Regions from separate parts of the Homo sapiens genome. Here region 1 is linked to region 2. Evidence: promoter capture Hi-C in human tissues and cell types (Jung and others, 2019). All regions are on one chromosome and are shown on one strand. The core of a region is centred on a gene start or on the middle of the fragment in contact, and the rest is flanking DNA. Distances in the headings are between cores, read along the strand shown.

Region 1 (2,783 bases), core at 13-2,512, 160 kb after region 2:
TACCCTTCATGACCTGTCCTAATCTACCTCCTCAGTGGCATGTTTTGTCACCTCCATCCATCTTCCTGGAACCCTGCCCTCCAGCTACACTGAAACACTTCCAATTTTCTGAAGGAACCATTTTTCTTCTCCCGTCTAGCACTTTACCCTAAACGTTCTTTCCACCTGGTACATCTCCCTTCATGCACTCTTCTTTGACTGGCTAACTCATACTTGTCTTTCAGGACTCTGCTTAGATGCAACCTCATCCAGGAAGCCTTCCTGGACTTCTCCATGCAGATTGCACTGCTGTCTTTGGGGCTCCCAACTCCCCGTGCTATCTCTACCAGTTCGCATCACACAGTTCTGCCATCCTCTGTTCACTCACCTGATCTGTGAATTCCTCGAAGGCAAGATCCTGTGTCCCCAGGTCCTGGCTCATGGTGAACAGTGACAAATGTGGGCTGTCAATGGTAACAAACAAATCACCTGCCACCCACCTGCACCTCCAGCTGTCACCTGTCCATTTTGCCTGCACAGCCACCCCCATAAGATTTGTCTTAAGACTGTGCCCTGCTATTTCTGGCCCAGAACTTGAGGCTATGACCCTACTTGTCTCAGTCCATTTCAAAGATATTGATTTCACTTGGCTCCAAGGGTGGTGGGCCTGGAGAGTGTTCTGTAAGAGGCTAAATAAACACAGCTCACCTCCCCTGCCCCTACCAAGACACACACACTGTGGCTGCCTGTCTGCAGCATTCACGTGACAGTTTGCTCCCAGAGAATACTTGGAAGCGAATACTAACAAGAATTCACCTACTCTATTCTTTGGCTCAGTCTGAACCTCCAAACTTCTCTGGCTTCCTCTACCTCAGCTGAGTATAGCTGATGGTCCAGCCCCTTGCTGGGTACTGCAGGGAACTTAGCAAGAATAAAGTCAAAAAACGAAGTGTAAATGGGTAAAACTATTTGCATTTTTATCACTCAATAAGCTAATTTGTTAATATAAAATAATACCCCAGAAATCAGGAAGAAAAAAGACCAAAACAAACTGCAAAAAGTCAGGAAAAAGGGTAAGGTCTAGGAACATTTTAGAGGAAATGGCTCTTGAACATTTAAAATGGTGTTCAGCCTCATTTATATTTTTTAATGCAAAATGAAACTTATAATGCCGTATCTCACTTATTGAATTGACAAAGATCACAAAGTTTGATCACACATTGTGCTGATTAGAGTGTGAGGAACAGGAACTCTTGGGCACTACAGGGAGAAGTAGAAATCGGCACACTAGTAATGGAGAGCAGATCAACCATATGTATCGAAACTGGAAATGCTGACAGCTCTTCCTCTTCTAGAAATCTATCCCACCGGTATACATGCACACAGCAACATAATGCAGCCAAATCATTTGTTGCAGCATTGTTTTGGTAGCAGAAGCTCGGACAACTTATATATCCATCAATAGCAGATTGGGCTAAATAAATTATGGTATATACACGCAAGGGAATGTATGCAACTGCGAAAACAATGCAAGAACTCTTTATGTGCCGATGTTGAAAGTTATCCAGGCCGGGTGCGACGGCTCATGCCTGTAATCCCTGAACTTTGGGAGGCCGAGGTGGGCAGATCACAAGGTCAGGAGATCAAGACCATCCTGGCTAACACGGTGAAACCCCGTCTCTACTGAAAAATGCAAAAAAAAAAAAAATTAGCCGGGCGTGGTGGCGGGCGACTGTAGTCCCAGCTACTTGGGAGGCTGAGGCAGGAGAATGGCATGAACCCGGGAGGTGGAGCTTGCAGTGAGTGAGACTCCGTCTCAAAAAAAAAAGAAAGTTATCCAGATATATGTTTTATGTATGTGTGTATATGTATATAAATGTGTGTGCTTGTGTGTGTAGATACACATATATACACACACATTTATTATATCATGCATAAAATATCTGTGGGAGACAGGCATGGGGGAGAATTTTTCTCTCACTTCCTTCCTCAGTTTCTTGCTTACATATTTGTCCCATTCTGCTCACCCAACCCATGATTCCACTTCTCTAGCTGAGGCTTTCTCCTCTGGGGTAGGAGTCTTTGACATCCACTGGTTATAAAGATGTTTAGTGGGGAGGGCAAACAGCATGAAATCAGGGTTAGTTGCCTTGGCGCTGCTGTAACCTTAAATGTTAATGTTTCACAGGGCTCCATCCACTGCTTCTGCTTCTCTCATTTCATACATCAACTTCGGAGGCTCCCCTTCACCTGCGCGGCTCCAACTGTCCATCATCACTGAATATACCCAGTACTCCTCTCCAGCCTAGGCTTCTCTCTAAGCAAAATCCTAAGAGTGTATATTCCTGGACACCCTCACATCTGCTTAACAGAATCTCCTCTCCCAACCTGGAACCTGCAGAATATGGATCAGGGAGCCCAGATCAAAGACTGAGCACTATCAGACACATCCTTCCTCTAACACCATGTCCTATCCCACACCAAATCTTCCAGCTTTGACCTCACTCATGCTCTCAAATATGTCTGTCAGCTCCAATCCAACCCCTGCCTCCTGTTTTCTGACCTGGACCACCCTAATAGTTTCTTAATAGTTCTTCCTGCCTCCGAGGCCCTCCTTTTTTTCAAGCCACCCTCCACATTGCTGACAGACAGAGTTTTCTAAGATTCAAAGTTAACTAAGTGAAACCCCCTGCATAAGTTCTTTCAGTGGTTCCCCATATTATTATTTTTTAAAATTTTACTTCAAGTTCTGGGAGACGTGCAGAACATGCAGGCTTGTTACACAGGTATACATGTGCCATGGT
Region 2 (2,700 bases), core at 53-2,552:
TGGCCACAGTCCACAAACCAAACGCAAGCCCTACTTATGAACAGCGCAGAGAATCAACAAGTTATCACTAAGCTGTGCGCCCCAGCTAGGATCTGCCACAGCCTCCCCTGAGCCCACCACTGTTCCCCACCAGCTCTGCTCTTCCCTCGCCTCCCCACCCCCTGCAAGCACGTGACCTCCTGTTTCAGACCCGGCCCCCCACCCCAGAGCTCCCGACGCTCCCAGGCAGCTGTCAAAGTCCGGGGTTCGCCGGCTTCCAGGCTCGCCTGACAGAGCCAGGCGTTCGCTTGGATCTAGCTTCCTTCCGGGCGGGAGGCGCGGGGAGGTCAAGCTCTTCAAAGGAACAGGGTGGGCAGGGGAGTGGTGCCAGGTTAGGCTCCTCGGTCCTCGGTAGTCAGAGCGGAGTAGGAAAGGCAGCGGGGAGCCTCACATCCCGCGCTTCTTCCGGACCCCGCCGCCTACCCGGAGGGTACACGTTCCCCGGGGAGTCAGAGACGCCCTGGGGGAGCTTGAGGAGTGTCAGCGGGGCCTTCCCTGGAGCCTACAAGTTTCCACTCCATCCCCGAGCTGGGAGACAAGTCACAGCTCGGCTCCCTCCTTGAAAGCACCGCCGCTGATCCTTCCCCCAGGCAGGAGCAGACACCTGCTTGTCCCCACGGCGCGCCAGCGCCCTGCTCTAGCCGTCCCTGGGCCAGAGCTCGAAACTCACCCACTGCGCTCCCACCCCGGCACAGACAGCCCTCAAAGTTGTCCGTACTCCCCAGACCTCGCCTTCTGCTCAGCCCCCGGACCCCGCCCAGGGGTTGAGTTGACGTCCGCGGGTGGACCTCTCTGGTCCGCTGCGCAGGGAACTGACTTCGGGAATCCAGGGCGCACAGAGGCCAAAGAAGCTGCGGCAAGGGAGGGTGGGCAAATCCAGCTTGAGCCTAGGTCCTTGCCGCTTTCACCCTCAAGCCTGCCCTGCCTCCCTCCTGGGAGAAGAGCAAACTTCCCCAGCACCCACCTTTAGCCGCGAGGAGGCGGCGCTGCCGGCTGTCCCCGCCACCGCCGCTGCCGCTCCCCACGCCCAGCGCCAGCAGGAGCGGCACCCAGCACAGCCGCCCAGGCAGCATCCTCGCAGCAGCCGCCAACGAGCTGCAGCCGCCGCCTACTGTCCGCGCCGGCTCTCGCCTCCCGGTGCCTGCCGCACCGTGGGCCGCCTCGCCGTGCCCGATGGGTGCGCTTCTAGCGCTGCCGCCGCGGCGCTCGGCCTCGGGTTCCCGCCGCTGCGCCGCTAGCTCGCCGGCAGCAGCCGCGCTCACTGGCGCGGACCCGGAGCGGCTCAGGCGCTCACCCCGGGACGGCCCGTGACGTCACGGAGGGAGGGAGGTGGCTCGTGCATATTCATGAACGCGGGCATCGGCGCCGGGTTCCGCGCTCCCCGCCCCAAGGCCCCGACCCCCAACTTTCCTCAGCCGTCTCCACGCTCCGGGGCCCTGTCCAGGTCCCCCTGCCCAGTCGGGACCGGGCCCCCAGAGGACCCTGGTGGGCGGCTCCGGAGAGCCCTCCAGCCCCGCGCCTCCACTCCGACTCTCGGAAAAGCTGCCGCAAGGGATGGAGGGCTCCCCCAGAAAGTGGCCACCCGAGGCCTGAGGGTCATCTGGGGTGGCGCGAGGGACCCTGACCTGCCATGCCCTTTGAACTGATATCTGGGCGGAGAGGACTGACGGGCGTCGCTAAGGGTCTTGCCCTTGGCTGGGTCTCTGGGCGTTCTGCGTCGACTGGTCTGGGGAGGGCGCCAGGCGCACACTAGAGCAGCGCCTAGTGGTGCTAGGGGTTGTCGGGCAGAGTAGATAGCCTTGGACCTGGATGGCAATGGCAGGGCTCCGCGTCATCTCCGAGAAGCAGGGGCAGCCGCGGCTCTTAGAGGCTGATAGAACAGCTAGATCAGAAAACTTGGGGTGCTGGGCCTGCTGAGGCTGCAGTGGCGGGGGCGGGGTGTCAAACTTAAAATTCCCTGCGGTATGGTGCCATGCAAGAAGTTGCCACCTTTATGTTGTCACTCCGCATCTCTAAGAACAGGCTACTTGACGTCATGCATTGTAAAATCTCGTGCCGTTGAGTATTGTCAGTTCCCTGAGTGCAGGAGCCAGTGCATATCTTTGCATCCTCAACCATCTCTAGGCCGTGAAAAAATTACAAAGGTACTCAAAAAAAAAAAAAAAAAAAACAGTAAGGACTCAGAATAAATCCTTGACCATATTTACCTAAATGAAATGCCAACATCACACACAATGCAGGGTTTATGAGGAATAGTTTGGAAATAAAGTAGATATGGAAATACAGAAACAAACAATATTATTTATTTAGTCATTGATTCAAGACGTTTGCTGAGCATCTAGACAGGCTGTATCACCCTGACAGTGAGCACTGGATTAGTCGTTGGAGATCCAAAGACAGAGGAGAGAGTGGGTCCTATCCTCAAAGCTTTTGTTCCCTGCTTGGGGAGCCAGAGAGGGCAGCAAAGGCAATTACAATCCCTTGTAAGTGTTATGGTCCTGCACATTCTTTATGTTGCTAGCTATGAGCCTATACAAATCAATTAACAAAATGTATATATTGCAAGAGTGCCTAAACAGCATCCTCTAATTAATAACTGTAGTTTGAGGTACTCAACAAAGCCATAAAATCCATTAACAGCACTCCTGCAGCTCAGCCTCC

Evidence for each region. Contacts are between HindIII fragments. The study calls those that stand out against the background at their distance.
Region 1: a fragment that was not itself captured here is called in contact with the fragment with the promoter of CLSTN2 in region 2 in 2 of the 25 tissues and cell types used here (H1 embryonic stem cells and heart left ventricle).

The regions. Positions count from the first base shown.
Region 1 is chr3:139,769,310-139,772,092 of GRCh38, reverse strand. No RefSeq gene overlaps it. Among named protein-coding and RNA genes, the nearest start is that of NMNAT3, 93 kb to the right of the region's middle. The HindIII fragment of the contact is 6,358 bases long and covers 1-2,783 here.
Region 2 is chr3:139,933,787-139,936,486 of GRCh38, reverse strand. It overlaps CLSTN2 (calsyntenin 2), which reads right to left and starts at 1,302. Exons shown (of 17, transcript NM_022131.3): 1 at 1,004-1,302. The coding sequence starts at 1,112. RefSeq lists silencers at 1,155-1,214, 1,255-1,304. The HindIII fragment of the contact is 4,702 bases long and covers 1-2,700 here.